Linked DNA regions of Homo sapiens: all the other regions are linked to region 1. The links are contacts of gene promoters, found by promoter capture Hi-C in blood cells and fetal thymus (Javierre and others, 2016). All regions are on one chromosome and are shown on one strand. Each heading gives the region's core, a stretch centred on a gene start or on the middle of the fragment in contact. The rest is flanking DNA. Distances are from core to core; before and after follow the strand shown. Region 1 holds the start of COMMD2 (COMM domain containing 2). Region 2 overlaps TM4SF4 (transmembrane 4 L six family member 4). Region 3 overlaps WWTR1 (WW domain containing transcription regulator 1). Region 4 overlaps WWTR1 (WW domain containing transcription regulator 1). Region 5 overlaps WWTR1 (WW domain containing transcription regulator 1). Region 6 overlaps RNF13 (ring finger protein 13). Region 7 overlaps WWTR1 (WW domain containing transcription regulator 1).

Region 1 (2,508 bases), core at 9-2,508:
TCCAATTTTTAGTCTGCCTGGGAGACTCAGAATATAGAGTTGTCTCAAGCCTTAGATAGAAAAGACAGATATGAAGAGTCTTCTTCCCTTCCCCTCTCTTCCTCCACACCCTCCATTTTCAAGGGGTTAAGATTTGAAGAATCATATTCCTATCAATTAGCAACTTTATCATCTCTGATATTTGAACCACAGCAGGTGAGAAGAGAGTTGGAAAAGGAACTAAATTATCACAGGCGCTAAATACTTTTTAAAAGGCATTGCTCTGGGCCAGGTGTGGTGGTTCATGCTTGTAATCCCAGCACTTTGGGAGGCCAAGTTGGCTGGATGACTTGAGGTCAGGAGTTCAAGACCAGCCTGGCCAACATGGTGAAAACCCGTCTCTACTAAAAATACAAACATTAGCCAGGCATGGTGGTGGGCGCTTGTAATACCAGCTACTCGGGAGGCTGAGGCAGGAGAATCGCTTGAACCCGGGAGGCAGAGGTTGCAGTGAGCCGGGCGACAGAGCGAGACTCCATGTAAAAAACAAAACAAAACAAAACAAACAAACAAAAACATTGCTCTGAATCCTGTAAGCATCGGTCATTGTCATCATTATCTTTATCCTAATTTATAATCACTCATAAAACTTGTCAGAAGCTTTCAGCTTTCAGGCTGTTATGTAGAAGGATGGGCTTTGCAGCAGGTAAGTGAGGGATCCAACCCTCTCCATCTAACTCTGTCACAGGCTTTGTCACATAATCTCTGGAGCTTTGTGTCTTATCTGTAAAAACAAAGCCATGTTTGTTGAGGATATTAACTGAGATACATTTAAGATAACATAGAAGCTCTGGAAACTATTAGCTTTATAAAAGTGTCAGTTGCTGGACTTGTCTATCAGTTTCCTTATCTCTAATGGAAATTATAATGGAACCTACCTCATAGGGTTCTTCTGAACTCCAAATGTATTTAATAAATGTAAGAACACTTCCTGACACGGTTAGTGCTTAACAAATGTGAACTATTGATATTATTAATGTATGCTCCACGAGGGGGCGTGTCGGATTTGAAACACCTTTTCATCTCCCATAGAGCCTAGCACCTTGCACCCAGCAGGCGCTCACTGCATCTTTGCGGGATGATTTCAATGTTCTGACCTCAGCCTGCGCTGCAGGGAACGTCCGAGTGTAACGCGTTAGTTCGTAGGCCGGAACCCAAAGCTCCGGACGCTGCGACGCCGGAGCCTCTAGGCGCCGGGACACGGGCGCCGGAAGTGGCGAAGGCGGGGTCGGCGCTGCCGGGTGAAATCGTAGGACAGTGAAGATGCTGCTGGAATTGTCCGAGGAGCATAAGGAACACCTGGCCTTCCTGCCTCAAGTGGACAGCGCGGGTCAGCGGGCGTGGGGGCGGTGTTCTGTGGGCTGGGGAGGAGGTCAAAGGCAGCGCCTGGCACTCAACAGCCTTCTGACTTTCATTGCAGTGGTCGCCGAGTTTGGGCGGATTGCTGTGGAATTCCTGAGACGCGGCGCAAACCCAAAAATCTACGAAGGCGCCGCCAGTAAGAAGGGAAAGGGGAAGGCTCCGCAGGCTTCTAGGGCGGTTGCGAGCCATTCCCTGTCTCCCGGGAGAGAAACGGATTATTGCGAGTCCTAGGGTCTTGTTCCGATTGTAGTAGAATAAAACCAGCAGAGCTCTTCAGTCAGGGTGCAAATCCTGCCCGTCCCTTAAGTAGCTGTGAGATTGTTAAAGCTTCTATTAAATCAGTTTTCTCATGGTAAAATGTACATAATACCACCTTACTTTCAGAAATACTGAAAAGTGTTTTGTATAAATATACCAAAGTCTGTGGAATAGCTGGGTCAACTGTAAATTGCAAGTATTTGGTTATCATTATTAGTTGTTCAGATATCCGCTTTTGCTAAAAAAAAAAAAAAAAGTGTTGTTTTACCCCTGGGTAAGAGGCAGTCTCTGGGATTAAGTCAATCCCTGTCGAGTTCCTCTTCTGCCAGACTTGAAGGAGCTACGTATTCAAGAGAAGGGCTACGCACCTGATACTAGTCTCCACAGTTCTGCATTTTGTTAAGGTTACTTGGTGGGAAATACCAAAGGCATTTGGCTGGGAGTGGAATGACAAGGAGCAGGAGCCTCTGGCCAACTTACTGTTTTTCATGCAGTGTTTGAAAACATGTAATAATGAATAGTGTTTATTTTTAAATACAAATATGAACAAGATAAATACTACAGTAGTAATTTATTTGCTCGTTTTTACTTTTCTTTCTCAGGAAAACTCAATGTGAGTAGTGACACTGTCCAGCATGGTGTGGAAGGATTAACGTATCTCCTCACTGAGAGCTCAAAGCTCATGGTAAGGGATTTTCTGGACTGTTTTGTGTTGGCTGGATTCTTAAGAACGGTCTGGTGTACTCTACATCATAGTCCTGGCAGGTACCTGTGTGTTTTAATAATGTTGTTAATGGTTTATAATTGATTTTTTGAAGACATACCTAAAAAATAAAAATCATATCATCT
Region 2 (2,508 bases), core at 4-2,503, 250 kb after region 1:
GTGTAACTCTTTGTATCTTCAGTGCCTAGCCCCGCGGGGGCCAGCACACAGTAGGTGATCATTAATTACTTTATTGATGGCTTTGACAAACCCAGTTTTCAGTGTGCCTGACCTACGTGGTGCAGCCTATTAGCTTGGCAAGGGCAGAAGGGAGACTTTCTGGCTTGGACTTCCCTGAGACCCTTCTTATTGCACACAGTCACGTTGGCAGCACACAGGCCTTTGCTTCACCCTTGGCAACTTCAAAATTTCCAGTATGACTGGTTGTCTCTCAGGTGTCCTTTTACAGATGGGGAAACTGAGACTTTGAAAATAACTGTCCCGGGACCCCTAAGCTGGTTTGTGGTGAAGTTGGGGTTTGAACACAAATCAACAGAATGGATCTGATGCCCTGTTAGTGCCTGACTCATAAAGCCAGTTAGTCTTAATAAGACACATAGAATACTAATACTTATTACCTTAACCCTGGGCAATAGGCTGACAAAATTATTACTTAAATCAATTTTTTAAAAACTTTTTTTTGTTTGATCAAAGGAAGCATTTGTAGAAAAGATGAGTTGTTATTCATTCAACGTTTTGTCCCCCCTCCTAAAACACACACAATCTTTGTTACGTTACCTCTGAATTCAGGTTTTAATTTAACATACATAAAAGAACCCTAGCCATGATGACAGCCTCAAAAGATCAGTCACAAGCAACTCAAGCAAGGCAGCAAAAAAAGACAACAAATAACAATACTTAGGATACATCAATCATTCTTTTTCCTCTTAAAAACAGAAATTGGTCTTAGTTTCTCATTTTAAATGTGCTTTCTTCCTTTGATTTATGTAAAACTTCCAAAGATATAAACATCTTTATATACAAAGAAGTAGTATGGCAGTACATGTGACTTTATACATTTTACATTTGTAATAAAAAAATCATGAAAAGTATGCTTTGAACCTGTTGGTAAATTCTAAAAAGGAACTAATTTGAAAGATTTATAAATCAAATTTGTTAAGTGGCCAAACTATTTTTTATTTGAAAATAACAAAATTCTAACTCGAGCAAAGCTGGTTGGAAAGAAGGAATAACTGCCTTTTCTAAGCTTTATCAGCTAGGAAGCAGATAGGAATTAATAATTCCAAGAAGAGAAGAAGTTTTATGAAAAGAAATTGTAGTCGTCATGCTGTAGAGTCTGAGCAGCTCATCTCGGAGGTTTAAACGGGTCCATCTCCCTAGAAGGTAGAAAAGGTGAATTAACTATGATGTCATGATTTATGTAAATTTTTGCTTTTCCCCTCCTTCCCATCCCCATCACCTGCCTTCCTCCTGGCTCTTAATGGTTGCCTATTGAATGTTTCCTATACTTTTCTGGCTTTGTTTCAGGGCTTTACTCTGGCACCCACCTGTGTTGAGGTTATAGGAATGGAAGCTTCATTTTGTTTTGCATCATGTATTTATTTATTTAGTCCTCAAGGAAGTTACATTTTATTTATTTATTTTTGTTTTATTTTGTTTTTAATTTTTTTAAATTTCAATAGCTTTTGGGGTACAAGTGGTTGTTGGTTCTGTGGATGATGAATTAGGTACTGATGAATTCTGAAACTGCAGTGCACCCATCACCTGAGGAGAATACATTGTATACAATATGCATCATTTATTTAAAAAAATAATTTGGTAAGAGGTGCTGAGAGACCAAGTGCTATGTGGAAAGCCACCACTAACAAGTAGGAGAGCTGGGATTTGAACCAGGGAGGCAGAACCCAGAGATTGTGTTAAAGGAAACTTGAAGCTATGCTACCTCACTGACTTTCATAAGGTTAGTAAATAACATTCAATGCCATTTACTGAGCCTTCTAAGGATTCAAATGAATTCATGCTTGTCACCCTGTACTAGGCACTCCATTGACAACCGTAGGAGTAGGTATTAATAGCCACATTTTACAGACAAGGAGCAGTTGAGGGCTACTGACTGGGCCAAGACCACACAGCTGACATTCAAACCAGGTCTCATAGCATGTATTTTAAGGCACATTCCCAACTACCACTTCATTTAAGGACTGTGCCAGGCTCAGGAAGCTCTCAGTAAATACTTTCCGCCTGAATGGATAGATGTTGATCTTACACTCTCTCCATAAGTTAGGCAAGAGGCAGTTGGAATAACTGAGACTATGAGAAGTTAGTCAGCTTGCTGGAGTCACTCAGCTAGTAAGCTGTGGAACTAGGCTGAGAGCCCAAGTCTTTCCTCAGTGTCCTACTGGGGCAGGAATGCTGACCAGCCCCATGAGAGGCCAGCTGCCCAAGAGAAAGGAATCTTCAGCAGACTGACTTTAAAACTGCAGCTCTTGTGCACTGAAATATTTAGTAGTGAAACTTTGTGATGTCCAAAAATTACTTTCCAAGAGTCCAGAAACAGAGAGGGTGAGAAAATATTAAGAATTTTGTGAACATGGGTGAAAGTATACAGGTGTTCATTGCACCATTCCTTCAACTTTATGTAGATTTGAAGTTTTCAAAATAGAAAGT
Region 3 (2,508 bases), core at 5-2,504, 230 kb after region 1:
ACAGGGTTTCACCATGTTGGCAAGGCTGTTCTTGAACTCCTGACCTCAGGTGATCCACCCACCTCGGCCTCCCAAAGTGCTGGGATTACAGGCATGAGCCACCACACCCGGCCTAGGAATTCTTTAAAACAGAGATTTTGCTTGGCTAAAAATTATATTCTTGAGTATCTGAAAGTTAAAATGGGAAATTAGTAAAAATGAATGATTCTAACTGGAGATGAAGAGAAAAAAAGGCATCCAGCACATTAGATCAGATTGTTTTTTAGACACTTTTTAAAGCCTCATTTTTATCTGTTACACTCTAGTAAGTAGAAGAAAGTTATTTTGGATTTTGTTTTTTCGTTTAACGTTATTTTTCAATATCAGTAACACTATATTGAGGTCATATTGTTGAATTTGATTTAATTTTTCAGTTTACTACCCTTTGCAATGAAAATACTGTAAAATGTTACCCAGGAGTCATTTATATTTTGTGACTTCTAGAAAAGCCATTGTGTTTTGCTATCACCAAAATCCAAATTGGATGATGGTTCCTTCATCATTTGGAAGGATATAATTTTTCTCCCTGGAAAACACAGATTGCTAAAGTGAACTTTCGGCAATTTTGCTTAAAATAGTGAAACTTCCCTACACACGTTTCAGGAAGGCTACTGCACTTGTAACACACAAAAGATAATTTAACAAGTTTTTAAAAAATGACGTTATGGTGGAAGCTGGCCTTAGTTATCAATGCTTCTCAATTTTTGAAGTAGATATTATCTCTTCAGAAAATTGTTTGGGACTTTTTGAATTAACCTGTTGTTTTGATATTGTGTAATTAATAGTGGCTGAAGACCTGGGTTTTTCTTTCTCTCAGGACAATGAACATTTATTATATTTTTGTATGTATATAACTTTGTATATATCAATGACACCCAGAGCCATGGATATGTGGCAGACACTATATGGCACTTTACTCTAACTTTTGTAAAAGGAGCATATGATCCCAATTTCTAGATGGGTAAACTGAGAATCAGGCAGGTTAAGTGTGTCTAAGCTTACACAGCCACAAAGCTCGATCTAATGACACCAAAGTCAGTAGTGCATTCTGTCCCATACTATGACACATAAAGAACCTATATTCTTCATGTCATATCCCAGACACCTACTTTTCCTCTAGTACAGCATTTTCTCACCTGTGTTCTGTAGAACTTCAGTTTTATTTGAATACACATACTGCCAAAATAGGTTTAGGTGATTAAATGGGTTTAGGAAATAGTGTCTTAAAGAAAACAAAAGATTTCTTTACTCTAAGACTTAAAGCCTTAACATGCTCATATGCACTGTGCTCATATGCTTGTGAGAAAGGCAGATAGTTGTAGGGTGTAGGTATTACAGAAAGAGGGAAAACGTCTGCAGAACTGCCTTTATAAATGATGCCTAAAGTCATCAATGAAGACAACTTTTTAATAGCCTGGTTAAAAGAAGCTTCACACCATTCTCTTTGAACATAAAGAAGGATGGTATGGGTAAACCTAAGCTTACAATGAAACCTGTAGATTATAGTTCTGTAATAAGCTGTTTATTACAGACAAGGCCTCTCTACTCTTTTGTAAAACAGTTCTTCACACCTTTGTCATGGGAAGGCACAGATCATAGATCAGATCCACAGTGCCTTTCACATGCTCCTTTCTTATCTCCTTGGCCTTTTCCATTCTGGACCACACCTATCCAGAAATAATTTTCGATTTCTTCCACATCTCTGTACCTCTTATGAGTAAGGGTCAATAATGTGGTAGTTGAAGACATGAAGGTGAGGGTTATGTAAATACTTGAACTGTTCCTCCTTCAAGAGCCTAAAAGAAGGAATTAAAATGGTTTCTTTTCATTTTGTTATAGGAGAAAACGCAGGACAAACACCCATGAACATCAATCCCCAACAGACCCGTTTCCCTGATTTCCTTGACTGTCTTCCAGGAACAAACGTTGACTTAGGAACTTTGGAATCTGAAGACCTGATCCCCCTCTTCAATGATGTAGAGTCTGCTCTGAACAAAAGTGAGCCCTTTCTAACCTGGCTGTAATCACTACCATTGTAACTTGGATGTAGCCATGACCTTACATTTCCTGGGCCTCTTGGAAAAAGTGATGGAGCAGAGCAAGTCTGCAGGTGCACCACTTCCCGCCTCCATGACTCGTGCTCCCTCCTTTTTATGTTGCCAGTTTAATCATTGCCTGGTTTTGATTGAGAGTAACTTAAGTTAAACATAAATAAATATTCTATTTTCATTTTCTGCAAGCCTGCGTTCTTGTGACAGATTATACAGAATTGTGTCTGCAGGATTGATTATGCAGAATACTTTTCTCTTTCTTCTCTGCTGCCCCATGGCTAAGCTTTATGGGTGTTAATTGAAATTTATACACCAATTGATTTTAAACCATAAAAAGCTGACCACAGGCAGTTACTTCTGAGGGCATCTTGGTCCAGGAAATGTGCACAAAATTCGACCTGATTTACAGTTTCAAAAA
Region 4 (2,508 bases), core at 4-2,503, 210 kb after region 1:
CATGCACACACACACACACACACAAATGATCTGGTGAAATTATCTCATAACTTGTGATAACCTTTGTGGAATTTGCTTTAGACCACTATGTTCTATGTAAGGCTTAAAATGTACTCTAGACAGGGAGGTGTGAAATGAGATTTTAACAGAAACAAAAGCCGAGGCTAGATGAGTCAGGATTGGGGCCAGTATTCGAGCCTCCGTGAATTGAATTAAGGTAATAATTACTTAAACAGTAATGGTTAACAGGAAAGTACTTTGGAAGGAATCTCAGGAATCTATACTCCAAAGCAGAAAACATTCTGATGGTCTATTTTTGATAAGGTATTGTGGGCCCTGGTCATTAATCTGTATGTTCTTCCCTCTTGCAGTGATGAATCACCAACACCAGCAGCAGATGGCCCCCAGTACCCTGAGCCAGCAGAACCACCCCACTCAGAACCCACCCGCAGGGCTCATGAGTATGCCCAATGCGCTGACCACTCAGCAGCAGCAGCAGCAGAAACTGCGGCTTCAGAGAATCCAGATGGAGAGAGAAAGGATTCGAATGCGCCAAGAGGAGCTCATGAGGCAGGTATGGCTTTCCATGGTGTCTGGTGGAGGCTCCCTGGCCTTGGTGCCAAAGCTGATGGGTAGGTAGCTGCTTACCTTCAGGGTAATTCTTCTAGAGAAGAAGAGACAATAGGGCTCAAAGCCCTACTCCAAGCCTCTTGATTAAAATCCAGTTTCTTCTCTCAGTGTTCTGCCTGCCTTTTCAGAACGAAGCTTAAGGGTACAAGGACGAGCTGTATTAGCATGGCTGCCTTTGGCTTCCACTGCTAGTCTTTAGAAGGAGAGAAAGGAGAAAGTAGAGAGACAAGAGTCTGTTGTTGTGTAACAAATTATCCCAAAATGTAGTTGCTTAAATAGCCATTTCATTATATCGCACAATTTTGTGGGTCAGAATTTAGAAGGGGCTCACCTGGGATATTCTTCTGCTCTACATGGCATTGACTGAGGTCATTTAGTGGTATTCAACTGGTAGGTGGGTTGGTCTGGATAGTTCACAATGGCTTTACCTAAGTGGGTGGCATGATGGTGAGGATTGCTGGAAGACTGGGCTAAGCTGGAACAAAAGCCTGGGATCTATGGTGTGGCGATCTCAGAGTAGTGGTACTCATTCCATAGCAGCTGGGTTTTCAAGAAAAAGCATTCTAAGAGACAGGAAGTAGAAGTTGCCAATTTCTTGGGGCCTAGCTCTGGAAACGGTCGTGGAGTCGCTTTTGCCACACTCTCTTGGTCAAAGTAGTCACAGAGAACCCCCCGAGATTCAAGCAGATAGTGGAGTGGATGTTCCTCAGAAGAAATGACAAAGGATCTTGGTCCACCACAGAGCATGAAAAAGAGGGAAGCTGAAGGGAGAATGAGAAGGGAAAGTGGTTTGTATATGGACTCCAACAGAGTGCTCTGCAAAACTGCCTGGGCATCAATCAGGCACTTTTGTACCATACTCCATTCATTCAGTTTTCATTCCGTCAGTCAGGAGTGTGTTGCCGTGTGCCCTCTGTGGGTCAGGCTCAGTGCTGTACTTCAAAAACGAATACAAGAGAATTCCTAAAAGAACCCACAGTGCTCTCCCTGTTTCAGTGGCTTGGTCTATGGAAGAGCAGAATTCTTTCTTCTGTGTTGCTAAACTAATATAACCCATGTTTTCAGGTCTCATGCTTTTTTTCTGGCTACATTTTTGGGGAGAAAAGCTTCAGTTTATTGTTTTAACTTTTCAGACTTTGTTTTGTGACTCACATGAAGCAAGATACATGAATAACTTCCTTTTGCTACTTTAGAGAAATTAGAGAAATAAGTAGTTTTAACATTCCAGAGAACTTTCTTGGAGGAAAGGACCGAGCATGTTAGGGTAAATGCTGTTTTTTTAAAGCTACATTTGATACTTTCAAAAATACACATTGACTTCCATGAATGAATAATGTATTTCTCATCAAATACATTCCAGGATATAAGAAATCTATATTGTGTGAGGTTTAAAATGCATGGTAAATTAAAATCATTTCTCAGATATAGTCTTTGAAAATAAGGAAAATGAATATAAATTGTGCTTTGTTGCTCAGCTGAACTTTCCTCCAAATTTGAGGAATACAACTTAATAATTAGGTAACTACAGTTGTGTCTTTTACCCTGAGGATTTATGTTTGAACTTTCACGGTTATTTCAGGCTAACGGTTGTTTATACTGATTTTAGATATATAGTGTCATGTTTCTTGATGGGAAGTAATTGTATTGTTAATTGTTTTCTGTCTTTGAATAATAATTTTATTTGGAATAATTTTTCTGTTTTATAATGTAAGGTAAATTAAACAGTATCCCAACAGCATTTTATACATTCTCAGTTTTATACTTAAATGAGCTTTAGTGAGTTTTTTCTTTACACAAAGTTGTGACCATTCTGCAAAGAATGACTTGCTTCTCTGTTTTTGCGGGTGTGTTTCTCTTTCTCTTGCTTCTCCTCCTTCT
Region 5 (2,508 bases), core at 4-2,503, 190 kb after region 1:
ATGCTCAGGGCGGCTCCATGCTGGAGGTTTCTGGACACCTTCCCTATATCATTTCTGCCTGGGTCACTGCAGCCTAGGGCTGCCCCTTGGGAGACTTCTCTTCTGGGATCCTCAGCATGTCTTCTTTGCTTGTGCTTTCTCCTCTCCTCTGTGTCTCCTCTAGTTTTAAGTACACATTATATTTTTCCTGCAATTTGAGGGAATCTCAGTGTCGAAACTACGATATATTAAAATCAGATGGCTTTCGCCTGAGGCATTCCCTATTTCATATGTTTGCATTCACTGGTGCCTTCTCCATCCTCCACTCTTAGCTTGCTCATTTTTCCTCCTATCAAGAAGACCTAAATGGAGCAATGTCTCAGCTCTGACCCTGGGATGTAAGGACCTTTCACAACAGATCTCAAGCTTGACAGTCAACTCTCTTGGTGTCCCAGGTCCTTCCCAAGAAAACCTGCAATTTCCTATTCTGGGTGTCTGGTCCTCAGGGGCAGCTATCCAGTGGCGTTTCTTCTGAAAGACCTCCAACCGGTCTGTTGGGGTAGCTCTTTGTCCTGTCTTCCTAGGCTGTCTATGTTTTAAAATTAGAATCATTTAACAGTTGGGGTTGGGGATAGAGGTGGGAGGCTGGAAGGAACTATGAGTATGAGGTATCAGAATTATGTAGCACAGATTGCAGCTGGGATTCTGTTCCATCCAAATTCCAATCAGTTATCAAAAGCATTGTTTAATAGGAGTTTCCTCAAAGTTCAACAGTGCCACAGAACAATGGCCCATACATAACACAGTTTCTCTGGTCCCTGCCGGACTGAGAATTCTGTCTCCAGGAGGTTTGAGGTATGTGTAGAGAGGTTTTATTTTTTTAAATGTCACTATTTATTTTGAAAGAATTGTAAACTTACAGAAGAGTTTCAAGTTTAGTCTAAGGAATTCCCATATACCTTTTCCCCAGATCTGCCTTTGTTAATTGTTTGCTTATAAACATAGCCACGGTTGCATCTATCCATCTATCCATCTATCTATCTATCTACATATTTTTTTTTCTGAACCATTTGAGACAAAGTTGGAGACATCATTCTCCTTTACCCAGAAATACTTATATTTTCTCAAAAGACTTTTTCTTTTTTTCTTTTTTCTTTTCTTTTCTTTTTTTTTTTTTTTTTTTTGAGATGGAGTCTTGCTCTGTTGCCCAGGCTGGAGTGCAGTGGCATGATCTCGTCTCATTGAAACCTCCATCTCCTGGGTTCAAGCAATTCCCCTGCTGCAGCCTCCCAAGTAGCTGGGACTACAGGTGTGTGCCACTACGCCTGGCAAATTTTTGTATTTTTAGTAGAGATGGGGTTTCCCCATGTTGGCCAGGCTGGTCTGGAACTCCTAACCTCAGGTGATCTGCCTGCCTTGGCCTCCCAAAGTGCTGGGAATACAGGCGTGAGCCACCGTGCCCAGCTGGACATTTTCTTATATAAGCACAGTGTAGGTATCAAAATCAGGAAATTTAACATTGATACAATACTCTTATCTAATAGCCCAGATTCGAAATGTCTTCAGTTGTCCCGGTGATGTCCTTTGTGGCTATTTTTGTTTCTGGCCCAGGATGTGATTGAGGATCTCACATTGCATTTAGTTGTCCTGTTTCCATAATCTCTTCTAATTTGGAACAAGTCTTCGGTCCTTGTGTTCTGGACCTTGACATTTTTGAGGAATATATAGGCCAGTTATTTTGTGAATCATTTTTAAATTTGGATTTGTCCGGCATTTCTTCGTGATTTTGGTTTAGGTTATAAATTTTTGGCAGGAATACCATGGAAGTGATGTTGTGTTCTTCTCATTGAATCCTATCAGGAGGCACACGATTTGTTCCACTATAGGTGACATTAGCTTTGATCACTTGATGAAGGTAGTGTCTATGGAAGGTGGGGTGGGGGCAGCAGAGCATGCTTGTGCCAAATGGCTCCTCTAATGAATATGTTCTGTAAAGCTAATGAAATATGTGGAAAGGCTTTTTGGTCTACCAGGTCTCTATAAGGTATGGCCTAAAATCATGTAAACTCTTCCCCTCGGGATGACTAACAAGTAAAATTTCCAACCTGCTCAGTTAAGCTTCACAGAACATTATTTATTTGACACATAATATATCTGTGCAGCTATATACACACAGGTAGGTTTTTTTTTTAATTTATTTACAAAAGGTAGGCTATGTTTATTAGAGTCACAAGCAGTTGACTGTCTCAGTGTGACTCAAGACCACAAAAAACCCATTTCTCCTTCACTTCATTCTGAGTCCTAGACTGGCAGGTGTACTGCTTGGGGCCCATTCACAGGTTTACAAGTTTCTCATTGAGGGCAATCTGTGACTGACACACGAGTAGTTTTAAAATGAAATTATGATGCTTCCATTCATTTGTTCCCTACTCTTGCATCTTAAAAAACATATAATTCTTTTTTTTTTTTTTTTTTGAGATGGAGCCTTGCTCTGTCACCCAGGTTGGAGTGCAATGGCGTGATCTCCGC
Region 6 (2,508 bases), core at 7-2,506, 180 kb before region 1:
AGTCAATGAACTGACACTACCCAATGTTAAGACTTACTATAAAGTAATCAGCTGGTGCAGTGGCTCACGCCTGTAATCCCAGCACTTTGGGAGGCCGAGGCAGGCAGATCACTTGAGGTCAGGAGTTCAAGACCAGCCTAGCCAACATAGTGAAACCCTGTCTCTACTAAAAATACAAAAAAAATTAGACAGGCATGGTGGCACATGCCTGTGCTCCCAGCTACATGGGAGGCTGAGGCAGAAGAATTGCTTGAACCTGGGAGGCGGAGGTTGCAGTGAGCCGAGATTGCACCACTGCACTCCAGCCTGGGCAACAGAGCAAGACTCCATTTCAAGACAAAACAAAACAAAAGTACAGTAATCAAGGCGGTGTGGTACTGGTGAAAGAATAGATAAATGGGACAGAATAGAGATTCCAGAAAAAGACTCACACAAATATAGTCAACTGCTCTCTAACAGTGGAGCAAAGGTGATTCAAGGGAGAAAGGACAGTCTTTTCAACAAATAATGCTGGAACAAGTAGATTTCAACATGCCAAAAAAATGAACCTATATAGTAGGGGACTTCATCAACTTGATAAAGGGCATTTATTAAAAACAACAACAACAACTCACAACTAAAATACTCACTGGTGAAGTACTGCAAATTTTTGCCTTAAAATCAGAAAGAAAGTAGAATGGCCACTTTCACCACTATTATTCAATATTGTACTGTAAGTTCTATAAGCAATTACACAAGAAAATGAAATAAATCCATGTTGGAAAGAAAGAAGTAAAACTACACCTATTCACAGATGACATGATCTGTGATATGGTTTGGCTGTGTCTCCACCCAAAATCTCATCTTGAATTATAATACACATAATCCCCACGTGTCAGGGGCAGGACCAGGTGGAGGTAATTGGATCATGGGGGCAGTTTCCCCCACGCTATTGTCATGATAGTGAGTCTCACGAGATCTGATGGTTTTATAAGCATCTGGCATCTCCCCTGCTTGCACTCACTCTGTCCTGATGCCCTATGAAGATGTCTGCTTCTCCTTTGCCTTCCACCATGATTAGAAGTTTCCTGAGGCTTCTCCAGCAATGTGGAACTGTGAGTCAATTAAAACCTTTCCTTTATAAATTACCCAGTCTTGGGTATTTCTTATAGTAGTGTGAGAACAGGCTAATACAATCTGCTATATAGGAAATCCCCAAGAATCCACAAGAAAGCTACCAGAGCTATATACAAATCCATCAAAGTTGTAGGTTATAAGATCAATGCATAAAAATCAGTTGTGTTTCTCCACACCAGCAATGAACAATCCATAAAAGAAATTTAGAAAGGAATTCTATTTATAATAGTATCTAAAACAATAAAATGCCTAGAAATAAATCTAAGGAGATGAAAGACTTATAGACTGAAAATTACATGGCATTGCTGAAGGAAATTAAAGAAGACCTCAATAAATGGAAAAGCATCCCATATTCATGGATTGGAAGACTTAATATTGTTAAGATGTCAAGACTACCCAAAGCAACCTACAAATTTAGCACAATCCCTATCAAAATTCTATAACTTTTTTTGCAAAAATATAAAGTTCTATCCTCAAATTATTCTCAAGTTATTATGGAATTGCAAAGGACCCTGAATAGCTAAAATACTGAAGAACAACAACAAATGTGGAAGACTCACAATTCTCAGTTTCAAAATTTACTACAAAACTAGAGTAATCAAAATAGTGTGGGACTGGCATAAGGATAATCATATAGACCAAAGGAATGTACCTGAGAGTCCATAAATAAAACCATACATCTATGGCCAACTTATTTTTGATGAGAGTGCCAAGATATTCAATGAGAAAACAGTCTCTTCAACAAATGGTGCTGAGATAACTGGATTTCCACATACAAAAAAATAAGCCGGGAGCCCTACCTCATATTTACTATATATGAAAATCAACTCTAAATTGATAAAAGACCTAAATATAAGCTAAAACCATAAAACTTTGAAGAAAACATAGGGTAAATCTTTATGACCTTAGATTTGACAGTGTATTCTTAGATATGACATAAGGTAAAAACTGGACTTAATCAAAATTTTTAAATTTTTCATTTCTGCAAAAAAAGTTCTTGGAATTTTGATAGGAATTGTGCTGAATTTGTAGACTGCTTTGGGTAGTCTTGATATCTTAACAATATTAAGTCTTTCAATCCATGAATGTGGGATGCTTTTCCATTTATTGAGGTCTTCTTTAATTTCCTTCACAAGCAAAAAAAAAAAAAAAAAAAGGTTTTTGCTTATGCTTCATATCATAAGCAAAAAAAGAAAAAAGGTAAATTGGACTACATCAAAATTTGAAACTTCTGTACATAAAAGGACATTATCAAGAAAGTGACAACTGACAGAATGGGAAAAAATATTTGCAAATCATGTTATCTAGAATATACAAAGAACTCCTATAACTCAAGAACAAAATGATAAACCACCCAATTGAAAATAAGAAAAGTACTTGAACAGATAATTT
Region 7 (2,508 bases), core at 5-2,504, 180 kb after region 1:
GGTCTTTCTGGGACTGAGAGAAGGAGGCTGTCTGGGAAGTAGTGGTCCAAGGGGCTCTTGAAGGAAGGGGAAAAAGCCCACTCCCGCTTATATTTGTTACAGGTACCGTTAACCCCACATACCACCAGGGCTCTCCATGGGAAGCACTTGTAGAGGATTTTTCTTTTTTTTAAGTCGAGGAAAAAAATGTTTACTGTCAAGAAAAGCTTTTCTTCCCCGTAGGAACTGCTATTCTTTTTCTTTATAAACAGCATGGGATCAGGTGATTGATTCCATTTGTCCCCTGATTTGAGCCACACGAAGATAGGAGCCAAAAGTGTAGTTTATCTTCAGGAACTCTTTTTGTTTGTTTGTTTGTTTGTTCTTTGAGACTGAGTTTCTCTCTTGTTGCCCAGGCTGGAGTGCAATGGTGCGATCTCGGCTCACCACAATCTCCGCCTCCTGGGTTCAAGCAATTCTCCTGCCTCAGCCTCCTGAGTAGCTGGGATTACAGGCATGTGCCACCACAGCCGGCTAATTTTGTATTTTTAGTAGAGACAGGGCTTCTCCATGTTGGTCAGGCTGGTCTCGAACTCCCAACCTCAGGTGATCTGCCCACCTCGGCCTCCCAAAGTGCTGCTTATACCTTATGACCTGTGTATTCATGCATCAATTTTCTTTTTTGTCTTTTTGTACCTTCATTAGTATTTTTGTTTTTACTGGTTGTGAAAACAATACATAATCACTGCTAAAAATCTGGAAAGTACAAAGCAGTTTAGATAAGAAAAAAAAAATTACCAGTGAGCCTGTTATTTGCATATATCACCATAAATAGTTTGATATGTTTCTTTTTCCTTTTTTGTTCCATTTTCAAATATGAAACCTGTACAGTGTATGTATTTATACAATACACATATATAGGCAGGTTAAATATATTTGTATATGTGTGTGCATTTCCAAGGGAAGTTATACTTTTAAAACAGCAGAGAGTTTTTCTTGAAGTAGACTAAGCAAGGGAGTGAAGCCAGGAAGGAGGTGGGAGTAGCGGGGAAGTGGGGATTAATCTAGCTAAATTGTGGGTCCTGGCAAACACTGAGATTACACTGTGAAATACGAGAAAGGAAATGACTCAGTAACATTGAGAGAGGGAGCAGAGATGAGACAGCAGAGTGAAAGAGTGAATGGCGTATCCTGGGTTTGGGAAGTGGTGGGAAGTAGGGGGAGCTGGAGCCTGAGGCACTAAGTGATTAGAACAATAGGAGAATTTAGTTTTCAGATGAAATCATCAAGGCTGTATTAAGTGCCTCTTGTGAGCAATAGCTCACTCTTACTTGTTGCATTCAGCCTGGGAGCCACTCTTGACACCATGTTAGCGCAGCCTTACAGCTGATGTCAGGTCGACTGGTCTGCAGAGCCAGGAATTTGGGCTTTCTTCTCAGAGTTGTTTTGGAGCAATGAGAACTGCTCACTTAAGAAAGGCTCCCTCTTGTACTCCAGCCTTTGGGGAATGCTGTGAGTGACACTTTTAATTAACAAATCCACTGGGAACAAAACTCCTTTAAATGTGTTGGCTGGGTGTGGAGTTTGAAGGGTGGGCCGTGGAGGCTCCCACTGCACTGCAGGAGTGCTGGGACTTCAAGCCATGGGTAAGCTCGGTCAGAACTGTCAGGATGAGGTCCACCCAGAAGGCCCCACACTCTGTCCCAGGGGATTTAGGCTGGCAAGCTGTGCTGGCACTCCTGGGGCAAGATGAGCTCATCTGCCACTTCAGATGCTGGGCTTCCTATGCTAGATGTTCCTGCTCTTGCCGCATTCAGGAGCCACAGCCCACTTGTTCAGAACGGGAGGGGAGAGTGGGGGACGAGCATTTAGGAATGCATCATTCCAGCTCCTGTATTATTCCTAGAGCTGGTAGCTGAAATTCTGACCACGGAAGTGTCCTTGAACATCTTCCAGCAAATGATGTATATTTCCACATCTCACCGGGGCCTGTGCTGATGTTGGTTCTAGCACAGCATCAATATCCATGATGTCAGAGAGTCTAAGAAAGGTTTATGAAAGAGAGAAGGATTCTTTTCCTTCTGGTACCAGAGTGAAAACTATTTATGTAGCACATGTCTGCCTTGGAAAACATGCTGCTTTAATAGAATGAGTTCTGAAGGAATAATCAAAGCATTTCTTAGGTCTAATTATTTTGCTAAAGGGAGTTACTTAATTTTGACATCCTCATCAATTAGTTCCTCACTTGGAAGGCCTGTGACAAGCCTGAGGCTGGCTATGAGTTTCCACCTGCCCAGAAGTTGATGGATTTTATGAAAGCTTTAAACAGAACTACAATTGTGAAACTGAAAGTGTAAACTAAAACTATTGTTTTTATTATTATTTACTTTATACTTAGGGAAATGATTTTCATCTCTTTACTTCAGTATTTCCCCATCTTTTTTTTTTGGGGGGGATGGAGTCTCACTCTGCTGCCTAGGCTGGAGTGCAGTGGCATGATCCCAACTCACTGCAACCTCCACCTCCCGG

Evidence for each region. The method cuts DNA at HindIII sites, captures the fragments that hold promoters and counts their contacts. A CHiCAGO score of 5 or more calls a contact.
Region 2: a fragment that was not itself captured here is called in contact with the fragment with the promoter of COMMD2 in region 1 in 5 of 17 cell types (endothelial precursors, M2 macrophages, M1 macrophages and 2 more); the score reaches 17.9 in endothelial precursors.
Region 3: a fragment that was not itself captured here is called in contact with the fragment with the promoter of COMMD2 in region 1 in 6 of 17 cell types (endothelial precursors, M2 macrophages, M1 macrophages and 3 more); the score reaches 18.7 in endothelial precursors.
Region 4: a fragment that was not itself captured here is called in contact with the fragment with the promoter of COMMD2 in region 1 in 2 of 17 cell types (endothelial precursors and M2 macrophages); the score reaches 6.9 in endothelial precursors.
Region 5: a contact is called between a fragment that was not itself captured here and the fragment with the promoter of COMMD2 in region 1, in 1 of 17 cell types (endothelial precursors). The highest score is 6.1, in endothelial precursors.
Region 6: a fragment that was not itself captured here is called in contact with the fragment with the promoter of COMMD2 in region 1 in 1 of 17 cell types (neutrophils); the score reaches 5.4 in neutrophils.
Region 7: a fragment that was not itself captured here is called in contact with the fragment with the promoter of COMMD2 in region 1 in 3 of 17 cell types (endothelial precursors, megakaryocytes and M2 macrophages); the score reaches 6.4 in endothelial precursors.

Annotation. Positions count from the first base shown.
Region 1 is chr3:149,751,239-149,753,746 of GRCh38, reverse strand. It overlaps COMMD2 (COMM domain containing 2), which reads left to right and starts at 1,258. Exons shown (of 5, transcript NM_016094.4): 1 at 1,258-1,369; 2 at 1,460-1,537; 3 at 2,262-2,344. The coding sequence starts at 1,303. RefSeq lists a silencer at 1,033-1,102. The HindIII fragment of the contact is 1,089 bases long and covers 642-1,730 here.
Region 2 is chr3:149,501,385-149,503,892 of GRCh38, reverse strand. TM4SF4 (transmembrane 4 L six family member 4) reads right to left here. Exons shown (of 5, transcript NM_004617.4): 5 at 499-1,217. The coding sequence ends at 1,200. Among named protein-coding and RNA genes, the nearest start is that of TM4SF4, 28 kb to the right of the region's middle. RefSeq lists a silencer at 1,877-2,171. The HindIII fragment of the contact is 327 bases long and covers 1,090-1,416 here.
Region 3 is chr3:149,520,360-149,522,867 of GRCh38, reverse strand. WWTR1 (WW domain containing transcription regulator 1) reads left to right here. Exons shown (of 7, transcript NM_015472.6): 7 at 1,879-2,508. The coding sequence ends at 2,063. Among named protein-coding and RNA genes, the nearest start is that of TM4SF4, 47 kb to the right of the region's middle. The HindIII fragment of the contact is 431 bases long and covers 1,039-1,469 here.
Region 4 is chr3:149,540,401-149,542,908 of GRCh38, reverse strand. WWTR1 (WW domain containing transcription regulator 1) reads left to right here. Exons shown (of 7, transcript NM_015472.6): 4 at 372-574. Among named protein-coding and RNA genes, the nearest start is that of TM4SF4, 67 kb to the right of the region's middle. The HindIII fragment of the contact is 971 bases long and covers 768-1,738 here.
Region 5 is chr3:149,557,949-149,560,456 of GRCh38, reverse strand. All of the region lies in intron 3 of WWTR1 (WW domain containing transcription regulator 1), which reads left to right. Among named protein-coding and RNA genes, the nearest start is that of TM4SF4, 85 kb to the right of the region's middle. The HindIII fragment of the contact is 1,692 bases long and covers 408-2,099 here.
Region 6 is chr3:149,927,769-149,930,276 of GRCh38, reverse strand. The region is part of intron 8 of RNF13 (ring finger protein 13); the gene reads right to left. Among named protein-coding and RNA genes, the nearest start is that of PFN2, 42 kb to the left of the region's middle. The HindIII fragment of the contact is 4,883 bases long and covers 1-2,508 here.
Region 7 is chr3:149,575,017-149,577,524 of GRCh38, reverse strand. The region is part of intron 2 of WWTR1 (WW domain containing transcription regulator 1); the gene reads left to right. Among named protein-coding and RNA genes, the nearest start is that of WWTR1-IT1, 76 kb to the left of the region's middle. RefSeq lists enhancers at 1,476-2,102, 2,103-2,508. The HindIII fragment of the contact is 2,092 bases long and covers 209-2,300 here.